Regions from separate parts of the Homo sapiens genome. Here all the other regions are linked to region 3. The links are contacts of gene promoters, found by promoter capture Hi-C in human tissues and cell types (Jung and others, 2019). All regions are on one chromosome and are shown on one strand. Each heading gives the region's core, a stretch centred on a gene start or on the middle of the fragment in contact. The rest is flanking DNA. Distances are from core to core; before and after follow the strand shown. Region 1 overlaps SLC9C2 (solute carrier family 9 member C2 (putative)). Region 2 has its middle 60 kb from the start of RC3H1-DT. Region 3 holds the start of DARS2 (aspartyl-tRNA synthetase 2, mitochondrial). Region 4 overlaps SLC9C2 (solute carrier family 9 member C2 (putative)).

What was found. Contacts are between HindIII fragments. The study calls those that stand out against the background at their distance.
Region 1: a fragment that was not itself captured here is called in contact with the fragment with the promoter of DARS2 in region 3 in 1 of the 25 tissues and cell types used here (mesendoderm cells).
Region 2: a fragment that was not itself captured here is called in contact with the fragment with the promoter of DARS2 in region 3 in 1 of the 25 tissues and cell types used here (hippocampus).
Region 4: a contact is called between a fragment that was not itself captured here and the fragment with the promoter of DARS2 in region 3, in 1 of the 25 tissues and cell types used here (hippocampus).

The regions. Positions count from the first base shown.
Region 1 is chr1:173,507,239-173,510,011 of GRCh38, reverse strand. It overlaps SLC9C2 (solute carrier family 9 member C2 (putative)), which reads left to right. Exons shown (of 28, transcript NM_178527.4): 24 at 313-444. Among named protein-coding and RNA genes, the nearest start is that of PRDX6, 31 kb to the right of the region's middle. The HindIII fragment of the contact is 5,494 bases long and covers 1-2,773 here.
Region 2 is chr1:174,080,869-174,083,768 of GRCh38, reverse strand. No RefSeq gene overlaps it. Among named protein-coding and RNA genes, the nearest start is that of RC3H1-DT, 60 kb to the right of the region's middle. The HindIII fragment of the contact is 9,405 bases long and covers 1-2,900 here.
Region 3 is chr1:173,823,415-173,826,225 of GRCh38, reverse strand. DARS2 (aspartyl-tRNA synthetase 2, mitochondrial) reads right to left here and starts at 1,553. Exons shown (of 17, transcript NM_018122.5): 1 at 870-1,553. The coding sequence starts at 996. It overlaps CENPL (centromere protein L), which reads left to right and starts at 1,343. Exons shown (of 6, transcript NM_001387287.1): 1 at 1,343-2,014; 2 at 2,207-2,300. RefSeq lists enhancers at 1-171, 813-1,330, 1,037-1,596, 1,331-1,849, 1,827-2,066. The HindIII fragment of the contact is 1,671 bases long and covers 420-2,090 here.
Region 4 is chr1:173,531,953-173,534,652 of GRCh38, reverse strand. It overlaps SLC9C2 (solute carrier family 9 member C2 (putative)), which reads left to right. Exons shown (of 28, transcript NM_178527.4): 16 at 1-169; 17 at 856-1,044. Among named protein-coding and RNA genes, the nearest start is that of PRDX6, 56 kb to the right of the region's middle. The HindIII fragment of the contact is 3,914 bases long and covers 1-2,700 here.

The DNA.
Region 1 (2,773 bases), core at 190-2,689, 320 kb after region 3:
CATATGGCTTAGTTCCTGAATCCTGGACTTTGGGCTCATGAGCCATATCCTTCATTATATCTATTGACTGATATACATTTTTCTGGTCTCTTATTAAAGTCTATAGCTTTAATCACACCATACATTTTATCATCTTATACTTAGCAAACAACCATTTTCACAATACAAATGCTTCTAAATGACAAGAGTATCATAATTATGCTAGAATTGATAGTTTTTCTGAAGGTTAAATCTGCAGGCATCTTGTTTTTTGATGGTCTTGTAATTTAGTTCCACATCAAGCTGCTATGGCCTGGTTCCTTTTTGTTTCAGGCCTGCTTTATCTCCCTGGAGGATTTATATGAAGGCTTTGATGCCTTCTGGCCATCTCTGGAATATAAAATATGGCTAAAGCTTGCTCTCAGTACTGCCTATCAGTATTTTGAATCAAGTCTTATTGATGAGGTAAGTTATGTGATTAAAATATTAATAAATTGAATTTTTATGCATTGTATTTTTTACAAAATGCATTTCATATTTTTGAGACAAAAATAGAAAGGAAATTTGTGTTTGATTTTTTTTTTTTTTGAGACAGAGGCTCACTCTGTTGCCCAGGCTGGAGTGCAATGGTGCAGTCTCAGCTCACTACAACCTCTGTCTCCCAGGTTGAAGCAATTCTCCTGCCTCAGCCTCCCAAGTAACTGGGATTATAGGCGCCTGCCCCCACCTCTGGCTAATTTTTTTTATTATTAGTAGAGACAGGATTTCACCATGTTGGCCAGGCTGGTGTTGAACTCCTGACCTCAAGTGATCTACTCACCTCGGCCTCCCAAAGTGCTGGGATTATAGGCGTGAGCCACTGTGCCTGGCCCTGTGTCTGCTTTTCTAAAATGAGATTGCTAGAATTTTAACTGCTCTCTTATCCTGAGTTCCTACAGGTTGTCAATCCTTTTGTCACAGCTAATTTTCCCAAGCTACTTGCAATCATTTCTAAAAAAAAAAAGAAGGTAGATTTAGCAAATTCAAAATAGGTAGATCCCCCCCTGAACCAAGCATAGTGTTAATCAGAATGTGTTAACAAACGCTCTGTCTGTATTTATTATTGCCTACTCTGCCGATGTTAATATAAGTCTGTAAATCTCCTGCCTTTTCAAAATCTTTGTGGAGGTGACTGAGCCTCTCTCATGGACTTCCCCTCCAAAGAGTAGTGGTTCAAGTTTTCTCTGGACAAGCACAATTTACAATCTCACATTTGTATCCTATTTAGTAACTATTGGAACCCTTACTAGCTAGTGAGTCAGGAACTGGGGAAGTGAACTGGGAAAGATTGGAAGTTCAGTAATATTCACTGAACTGAGCGACTGGGTATAAATAAATATTGGGTTAAAAAATGAGTGTGTCATACAAGCCAGTCAGGTTTCTTTTACTTTATTGCAATAATAACTTTCAGAAAAATTTTAGCAGAGGGATAAGGGGATTGGAATTCTTCTCTTTTCCTTTTACCTTGCATCTTCATGAGAAGTGGGACAAATTTAGAGTCTAGTATGAAACTTCAGGGGTGAGAATTAGGACCAATGGGTAGAAACTGTATGGACTCAGACTTGACTCAATAATAAGATGAATGTCCTTTAAATTTTTTTAAATTCACAAGCAACACATATTCATTATATAAATGAGAAAGTACAGATATAAAACATTAAAAAAATTGTATTTATTATTAAATAGAGAATCTCTATTTAATACTTAGTTTCTTTCTTTTTTTTTCCATTAAAGAACTAGCCAATTAAGATTTTTTTCCCTCTAAATCACAGAACTCAAAATGTATATGCATTTTAAAATCAAACCAAAACAGCTGATTTTTTTTTAGATTTTCTGGTTGTGAAATACTAGATACATTTGCTAATTTTTAAATGTTTTTGGTTCCCAGTTGTGCTGGTGCCCTCAGCAAATAAATGTATGATTCACCTGTCAGTGACTGAGATTCAGGGACTGGCTCATGTAGCTGTGCCCTGAATGGGGGTGGAGATGTTTAGACTGAGCTGACAGCCCTGTCAGGGCCCTGTGCAGGAGATGCCTACTGTTGGGCTGATCTCTAAATTCCTGGGTTAGTTTGCAAGCACGGCTGTAACAAAGTACCACAAACTGGGTGGCGTAAAAAAACCAGAAATGCATCGTTTCACAGTTCTGGAGGCTAGAAATTAGAAATCAAGGTGTTGGGAGGATTGGCTCCTACTGAGGGGCTGTGAGGGAGAATCTGGGCCAGGCCTCCCTCCTTGGCTTATAAATGGCTGCCTTTATATTCACGTGGCGTTCTCCCTGTGTGCAAGTCTGCGTCCAAGTTTCCCCTTTTTATAAGGACACTAGTTGTTCAAATTAGAGGCCCAACCTATTCCAGTATGACTTCATCTTAACTAATTGCATCTGCAATGACCCATTTCAATAAGGTCACATTCCAGGATACTGGGAGTTAGGACTTCAGCATAAGAATTGGGTGGGAGGTGGTGTGTGTGTGTGTGTGTGTGTGCACAATTCAACCCATAATAACTCCCTCCCAGTTCTAAAGTCTATGACTCTGAGCCTTGAAGTATAGCTCAGACTCTAGCTTGCTTTGTTTTGGCTTTGTGTTATTCCTATTCACCTGTCAAGTGGAACATAAGCTTACTTGTAAGTGAAACTCTGAATCTTTTAAGACTCTGAGTCTTGTGCAAATAGAAATCTCCTGAGTCATAGCCAACTACCCTGCTGTGGCTGAGAGCTCACAATTTAGGGCTGGGCAACAGTATCCAGGGCCCAT
Region 2 (2,900 bases), core at 235-2,734, 260 kb before region 3:
AGCCAGTATATTAAGGCAAGAAAAATAAATAAAATATATCCAGATTGGAAAAGGAGACATTAAATTGCCTTTACTTGCAGATGACATAATTTTAAGTAGAAAATTCTACAGAATGTACAAAAAAGCTGCTGGAACTAATAAATGAGTTCAGCACAGTTGAATGTTACAAGATCAATTTCAAAAATTAATTGTATTTCTAAATACTAGGAAAAAAAAGTCAGAATTGAAAATTGTAAGGCCCAACATTCACAATAGCACTAAAAGACATGAAAGACTGGCTGGGCGCGGTGGCTCACACCTGTAATCCCCGCACTTTGGGAGGCCAAGGCGGGTGGATCACCTGAGGTCAAGAGTTTGAGACCAGCCTGACCATCATGGTGAAACCCCATCTCTACTAAAAATACAAAAATTAGCCAGGCATGGTGGCATGCGCCTGTATTCCCAACTACTCGGGAGGCTGAGACAGAATTGCTTGAGCCCGGGAGGTGGAGGTTGCAGTGAGCCCAGATCATGCCACTGCACTCCAGTAGGTGGGACTACAGACGCATGCCACCATGCCCTGCTAATTTTGCAATTTTTTGTAGAGATGGAGTTTCGCCATGTTGCCTAGGATGGTCTCGAACTCCTGGGCTGAAGTGATCCTCCCACCTTCACCTCCCAAATGCTGGGATTATAGGCGTGAGGCACCACACCTGGCAGCTTTTTTATTTATTTTTATTTATTTATTTTTTGAGATGGAGTTTTGCTCCAGATTCATTCTTCCGTATGTGGCTTGCCAATTATCCCAGCATCATTTGTTGAATAGGGTGTCCTTTCCCCACTTATGTTTTTGTTTGCTTTGTTGAAGATCAGTTGGCTATAAGTAGTTGGCTTTATTTCTGGGTTCTCTATTTTGTTCCATTGGTCTATGTGCCTATTTTTATGCCAGTACTATGATGTTTTGGTGACTATCCCCTTGTAGTATAGTTTGAAATCAGGTAATGTGATGCCTCTGGATTTGTTCTTTTTTTTTTTTTTTTGAGATGGAGTTTTGCTCTTGTTGCCCAGGCTGGAGGTGCAGTGATGCGATTACTGCAACCTCCACCTCCTGGTTCCAGCAATTCTCCTGCCTCAGCCTCCCTAGTAGCTGGGATTAGAGCCGCGTGCCACCACACCCAGCTAATTTTTTGTATTTTTAGTAGAGATGGAGTTTCACTATGTTGGCCAGAATGGTCTCGAACTCCTGCCCTCAGGTGATCCACCCACCTTGGCCTCCCAAAGTGCTGGGATTACAGGTGTGAGCCACCACGCCCAGCCAGATTAGTTCTTTTTGCTTAGTATTGTTTTGGCTATGCGGGCTCTTTTTTTTGTTCCATATGAATTTTAGGATTGCTTTTTCTAGTTCTGTGAAGAATGACAGTGGTATTTTGATGGGAATTGCATTGAATTTACAGATGAATAGAATGTATATTCTGCAGTTGTTGGGTAGAATGTTCTGTAAATATCTGTTAAGTTCATTTGTTCTAGGGTATAGTATAAGTCCATTGTTCCTTTTTAGGCTTTCTGTCTTGATGATCTGTCTAGTGCTGTCAGTGGAGTATTGAGGTCCCCCACTATTATTGTGTTGCCGTCTATCTCATTTCTTAGGTCTAGTAGTAATTGTTTTGTGAATTTGGGAGCTCTAGAATTAGGTGCATATATGTTTAAGATTGTGATATTTTCCTGTTGGACTACTCCTTTAATCATTACATAATGTCCCTCTTTGTCTTTTTTACCTGTTGTTACTTTAAGGTCTTTTTTTTTTTTTGTCTGACATAAAAATAGATATTCCTGCATGCTTTTGATGTTCATTTGCATGGAATATCTTTTTCCACCCCTTTACCTTAAGTTTATGTGAGTCCTTATGTGTTAGCTGAGTTTCTTGAAGACAGCAGACACTTGATTGGTGAATTCTTATCCATTCTGCCATTCTATGTCTTTTAAGTGGATCATTTAGGCCATTTACATTCAACGTCAATATTGAGATGTGAGATACTATTCTGTTCATCCTGCTAGTTGTTGCCTGAATACCTTATGTTTGTTGTTGTTGTTGTTATTGTTTTAGAAGCCCTGTGGGATTTATCCTTTAAAGTGGTTCTATTTTGGTGTATTTCGAGGTTTTGATTCAAGATTTAGAACTCCTTTTAGCATTTCTTGTAGCGCTGGCATGGTAGCGGCGAATTCTCTCAGCATTTGTTTGTCTGAAAAAGACTTTATCTTTTCTTCACTTAATGAAGTTTAGGTTTGCTGGATACAAGATTCTTGGCTAATAATTGTTTTGTTTAAGGATGCTAAAGATAGGACCCCAATCCCTTCTAGCTTGTAGGGTTTCTGCTGAGAAATCTACTGTTATTCTGATAGGTTTTCCTTTATAGGTTACCAGATGCTTTTGCCCTCACCATCCTTAAGATTCTTTCTTTTGCCTCGACTTTAGATAACCTGATGACTGTGTATCTAGGTGATTATCTTTTTGTGATGAATGTACTGGGTGTTCTTTGAGCTTCTTGTATTTGGATGTCTAGATCTCTAGGAAGGCCAGAGAAGTTTTCCTCGATTATTCCCTCAAATAAGTTTTCCAGACTTTCAGATTTCTCTTCTTCCTCAGGAACACCTGATGGCAGTGACAGGTCTCATCCAGCTCCCATGCAGCCAGCAAAGCCAGTCTCACTCCCACCATGCCCCACCAACAGCATGGAGTTTATATCCAGGTGAGCAGGACTGAGATCTTGCCCCAGGCTACAAGCTTCCCTGCTGAGAAAGCAAGCAGGGCTTTCAGGCCCTGCCCCTCCCTGCCTGCTGTGTCTTCCATGCTCTTATCTGCACTCCTTGTTCACCCCCTTCTCCATTTTGCCCAGGAAAATTCACACTCCATCAAAATTATT
Region 3 (2,811 bases), core at 304-2,803:
TTGAGATGGAGTCTCGCTCTGTCGCCCAGGCTGGAGTGCAGTGGCGCGATCTCGGCTCACTGCAAGCTCCGCCTCCGAGGTTCACGCCATTCTCCTGCCTCGGCCTCCCCAGCAGCGGGGACTACAGGCGCCCGCCACCACGCCCGGCTAATTTTTTTTTTATTTTTAGTAGAGACGGGGTTTCACCGTGTTAGCCAGGATGGTCTCGATCTCCTGACCTCGTGATCCGCCCTCCTCGACCTCCCAAAGTGCTGGGATTAACGACGTGAGCCACCGCGCCCGGCCGAAGAAGGATTTTTTTAAGGCATCAACCAAAAGCAGAGTATTCTATATATTACGTGGTTACCTTTTTGTGGTCTTTCTAAAAACTCAGGGAAAAAAAACTGCCGTATAATGAATATAATGAGAGTGAATTTCGCTTCTACACATAAGGCTATCCAGTTAAGAACAGGGGAAAAGCCGGGCGCGGTGGCTCACGCCTGTAATCCCAGCACTATGGGAGGCGGAGGCGGGTGGATCACGAGGTCAGGAGATCGAGACCATCCTGGCTAACACAGTGAAACCCCGGCTCTACCAAAAATACAGAAAAATTAGCCGGGCGTGGTCGCGGGCGCCTGTAGTCCCAGCTACTCGGGAGGCTGAGGCAGGAGAATGGCGTGAACCCGGGAGGCGGAGCTTGCAGTGAGCGGAGATCGCGCCACTTCACTCTAGCCTGGGCAGCAGAGCGAGACTCCGTCTCAAATAATAATAATAATAATAATAATAATAATAATAATGGGGGAAAAAATGAAAAATGGAATAAAAGCTCTCCGGCCGTAGATAACAGGCTGAAGTACTGTTCATAGGATAGATCTCTTCGCTATTTTCACCTGGAATTCTCCTCTGTGAACTCTGCAACAGACTTCTGTAGAGAGAACCCCAGATCGGTTGGGTGGTCCTTCTGATGGGTCTGGATAAACCCCTGTACAGCTGACTTAACCAAGAAGGGAAGTACATGTTGGAGCCACACGATGGCGAAAAACAATCACGAAATCCCACGCTGCCGGTAGTTAAAAGTCAGTTTTGGAAATACACAGAAATCCCTTAAAATTCCAGGAGTTCCCACTCTCTTCTCGAATATTTAAGGCCTCCTCCGCACAACATTGGAGTACACGTGTCTAGAAACAAGACAAATCTCCAAGGTCTCTGGGGTGCTTGCTGGGGTGGAGATAAGGGAAAGACCTCTCCCTGAGTCTTAAAGCATCAGTCTGCACTTCTACTCAACAAGTCGGCAGCCAAAAGTGACGACGAGAGAGCGACTCCACGTAGCGGCGCCAGGCGCGAGCCCAAGACAACCAGAGGCGGTCACAAGGTATACGCCCTTCTCCTCTTTCCACGCTTCTCGAGAGGCTCCCGCGGCCAGAACCGGAAAACAAGGAGTAACAGTCGCGTTTCAAATCTCGCAGACCTGCTGGCCGATTTCGAGTCTTCTGAAAGAGGAAGGCGAGCAAAGCCAAAATTCTCCCAGAGCGCGAACCCAAACACAGATCGCCGCTGGGGTCCAAGCGCCCTTCAACTCCGCCCGCTAGTGCCCAAGATTACCGGGAAGGAATTCAACGAATCAGTGGTGAGGTGCCGCCGCCATGCCTACTACGGGCGGAAATTTGAGAGAAAGCTTCGCACCGGTAGGAAAACTGAGGAGCAACCGAGCACGATTGGAAAGGTTGACGATAGTGGTTAAGTGGCTCGGCCTTGCCCTCAGTTAAAATGGCAATTTTAGTTGCTTCACTGATACGGAATCGGCGAGGCGCCAAGGAGGCTTCCTGCGTGGGGCCGCAGAGCGAGTCGGGAAACGATTTTAAACTGAAGAGGCGGCGGAGGGCCGAATTCCCTTTTCTCAACGGCTTGATTTCAGAGCTGGGCTGGTCTCTGACAGGCTCAGCTGGAGAGGGACGGGTTGGGACGCACTGTCCTTTTGCCCTTCCCCCTCCGCGAGCAGAAGCTGACTCCGCAGGAGCGAGGGTCGCAGAGCTGGGTGAGCGGAAATGTCCCTCCCAGAGTGAAGTCGCAGGGCCCGCCCCGCGTCTGAGGGAGCGGAGGTCTTCCTGGGTGCGTTTGTGTCTCTTGTGAACCCACTTGTGGAGCGAGAGGGAATTTGGGAGGGCCAGGGGTTAGTCTGGCCTCTGTCTTAGCTGTCATTTTGGCGGTTTTTTTTTTTTTTCTTCAGGGGATTTCAGTCTCCACATAGTTTTGGAGCCGGACTTTTGAAGAATGATTCGTGAATCCGGAATGGGTGACAGCGTCATCACGGCATTTTATTGGTAAAGATGCTTTGTATTGGTCCCGGACCTGCTTTAACTTTGTATTTGCCCTGTTGTGTGGTCATTATCTTACAATACTTGCGTGTTGAGGTGTGTTTAAACACTACGTGCTTAACACTGGCTAAGTATTGGCATTGGGGCGGTTGGATTTAGGTATTGGTGGCAATGTAGAAAAGTGATCAAGTCAGAGCCCCTTCACGGACTAATCACAAGAGAAACAACAAAGCTTTACTTGTGTGCTGTGAACCACAACTGCAAGTGGAATTGTCAAGAGAACTAGCCCTGCCAAGCTCAGGAAAACTTCTGAGGAGATGGCACATGGAAAATGGATAAGATTTACTGAGACAAACGGGAGTAGAGAAGTGTTTTTAATTGGCGATAAGGTGAATAAAAAGGCAGGGAGAACAGTAGAGTGATCATCTGTCTAGAGTAGGGGGTGCATGTTTGGGTATAGGGCTGTCATTTAACCTCTTAAAGAATTGTCTACTGGAACTTTCTTCACTCCCATCCC
Region 4 (2,700 bases), core at 97-2,596, 290 kb after region 3:
CATAGTATTTTCTGAAGAATTTGAATATACAGGACAGATTATAAATTTGATATATATTTATCCTATGATAATACATCTGTGGCCAATGGCAAGAGGTTTAAATGTATCAGCACTGATATCAATAAACTACTATTTTATGTTTTTATATGTATTAGAATCAACATTGAAGGTACTGTTTAAAATAGAAATAGAATCTATAAAAAGAGCAATTCAGGTATTTTGAATCTATTTTGTCATATTATTGAAGTAACTTGATACCAAGAGCCATTTGCTATGATAGTTGATGAGATCCTAGAATTTTAGTAAGCTTTTTGAATTTTCCAAGTTTAATAGTGAAATTAGTATAAGAGTCATGGTATTGGACATCAGTTAAGTATCATAAAAGTAGAGAGATTCTCAAGGATCAGGTAAAGGAGAATTGAAAATCCAGACATGGACGTTTCCCTCAAATATTTTGTGTAATGATGCAAGAAATAAATAAGTGAATAAGAATTGGTTTGCTAGGTCTTTGTCATAAAATGTGAGTTAATTATTAGTATAAATGTGTAAAAGGTGATTTATGAGCATTACTATTTCATACTTTATTATTAATAGTATTGCAATGAATCTGTTTATTGCTATTTTTAATAGTTGTTTTTGGCATTCCAGCTTTATTATAGAGTATATATTTTAAATCAAATTATAAATGGTGAAGATTTTAAAGAATTTTTGGGGGGATTCCAAATGAATAACTTAAAGCTCAACTTTCGGAATATAACTCATTTGTAGTTAAGAACTTAGTTGTTAATTTTATAGATTTCTTCCCCCCAACATTACTGTATAGGTGCTATGAAATGACATTTGTTTTCTGTACAGATAATAATTTTGAAAAGGAAATATTTTCAACAATGTTGGAATACTTTGGAATTTTTTATCCTGGTTATTGGAATCATTGATATCTTTTGTGTATACTTTGTGAAATTGAGACCAGACAACTTGGCTCTTATACAGCTTACAGTAATAATGGGATATTTAAGAATAATTAGGTTTCTTCCTCTCTTCAAGGTAAGATTTCACATTTTAAAATATTAAGATTTGCCAGGAGTGGTAGCTCACACCTATAATCCCAGCACTTTGGGAGGCCTAGGTGGGTGGATTGCTTGAGTCCAGAAGTTTGAGACAACCTGGGTAACATAGCAAGACCCCATCACTACAAAAAATTAATAAATTAGCTGGGCATGATGGTGTGCACCTGTGGTCCCAGCTACTTGGGAGGCTGAGGTGGGAGGATCGCTTGAGCCCAGGAGGTGAGGCTGCAGTGAGCTGAGATTGTGCCATTGCACTCCAGTCAGACAGAGTGCAATGATGGCTCTGGTGACAGAGCCAGACTCTGTCTCAAAAAATAATAATAATAATAAAATAAAGTATTAAAATTCTTTTTTTACATTGTGTGTTAAGTGAGTAAGAAACCTCATTGTTTTGAAAGAAATGAGAGCAGGAGTTGTCTCTTCTGGAACACCCTCTCAATAGGTATCTGCATGGTTCCCTTTCTCGTCACCTTCAAGCCATTGCTCAAATCTCAGCTTGTCACAGAGGCCTCTCCTGACCAGCCTATGTCAACTGGCAACCCACCCTTCACACCCTCAATTTCTACCTCATCCTCCTGATTACCCTCTACCTGCTCAACTTTAATTTTTGCCCCACAGTACTTATCAGCAATTTACTGTATATTGTATGTACTCTCTGTGAGGTAGAGATCTTTGTTTTGGTCTTTCTTTTTACATTTTTTAATAGAAATGGGATCTCACTTTATTGTCCAGGCTGGTCTAAAGCTCCTGGGCTCCAGCAATCCTCCTGTTTCGGCCTCCCAAAGTGCTGGGATTACAGGCATGAACCACCATACTCGGCCTGTTTTGGTCATTGATGTAACCTCTGCCTCCAGAACAGTGCCTGGCGTATAGTAAGCACTTAATAAATATTTGTTGAGTGAAAGAATAAAAATCTTGGTGCCAGTAGAAGCAGGGTAACCCAAATACAAGTTCTTTAAGTTTCAGTAAAATTTGTTCATGTCTCCCAAACTGTACAGAAACAAAAATATTTCCTCCATAGCTCCACAGTCACATAGGATACTACCTATGGAATTTAATTTTACTGTGGCCTTCAATTTCCTTAACAATTACTATGCCTTCATTCCATGACTCTGGTTTTGATACTGAAGGCAGATTTTTATACTTTCAGTTTCAATTCTTAAACCTCCTTTCTCTCTTTCCAATGGAGTTGCATTACATAAGCTTTTAACTTCAGGGCTTTAAATGATTTCACTTGCCATGCCATGTTTGTTGTTGTTTAATTCTTATTACATCAAGCAAATCTATTATATTAGTATTTATTGAAGTTAGATACAGAGACTTAACATTAAAAAAATTGCTATAAACTCTGATGGTGAAATGCACATATTAGACTCCTCCACCTACTTCCCATTCTCCACAACATTTAATAGTTATCTTTAAGGCAGAATTGTTTGACTATCCAGTTTGTGCTTACAGATTTTCTTTTTTGTTCCTTCATTTATTCTACATTGGTGTGACCAAACTTTAGTGTTCATAAGAATTACCGTTCAGAGTTACTGTACCTGGTTTAAAGGGTAATTTTGATTCAATGTGCTTTTTGCCTTATGAGCTGAGTTTGGAGCAAAGTGCTCATGTAAGGTGTAACTCCACC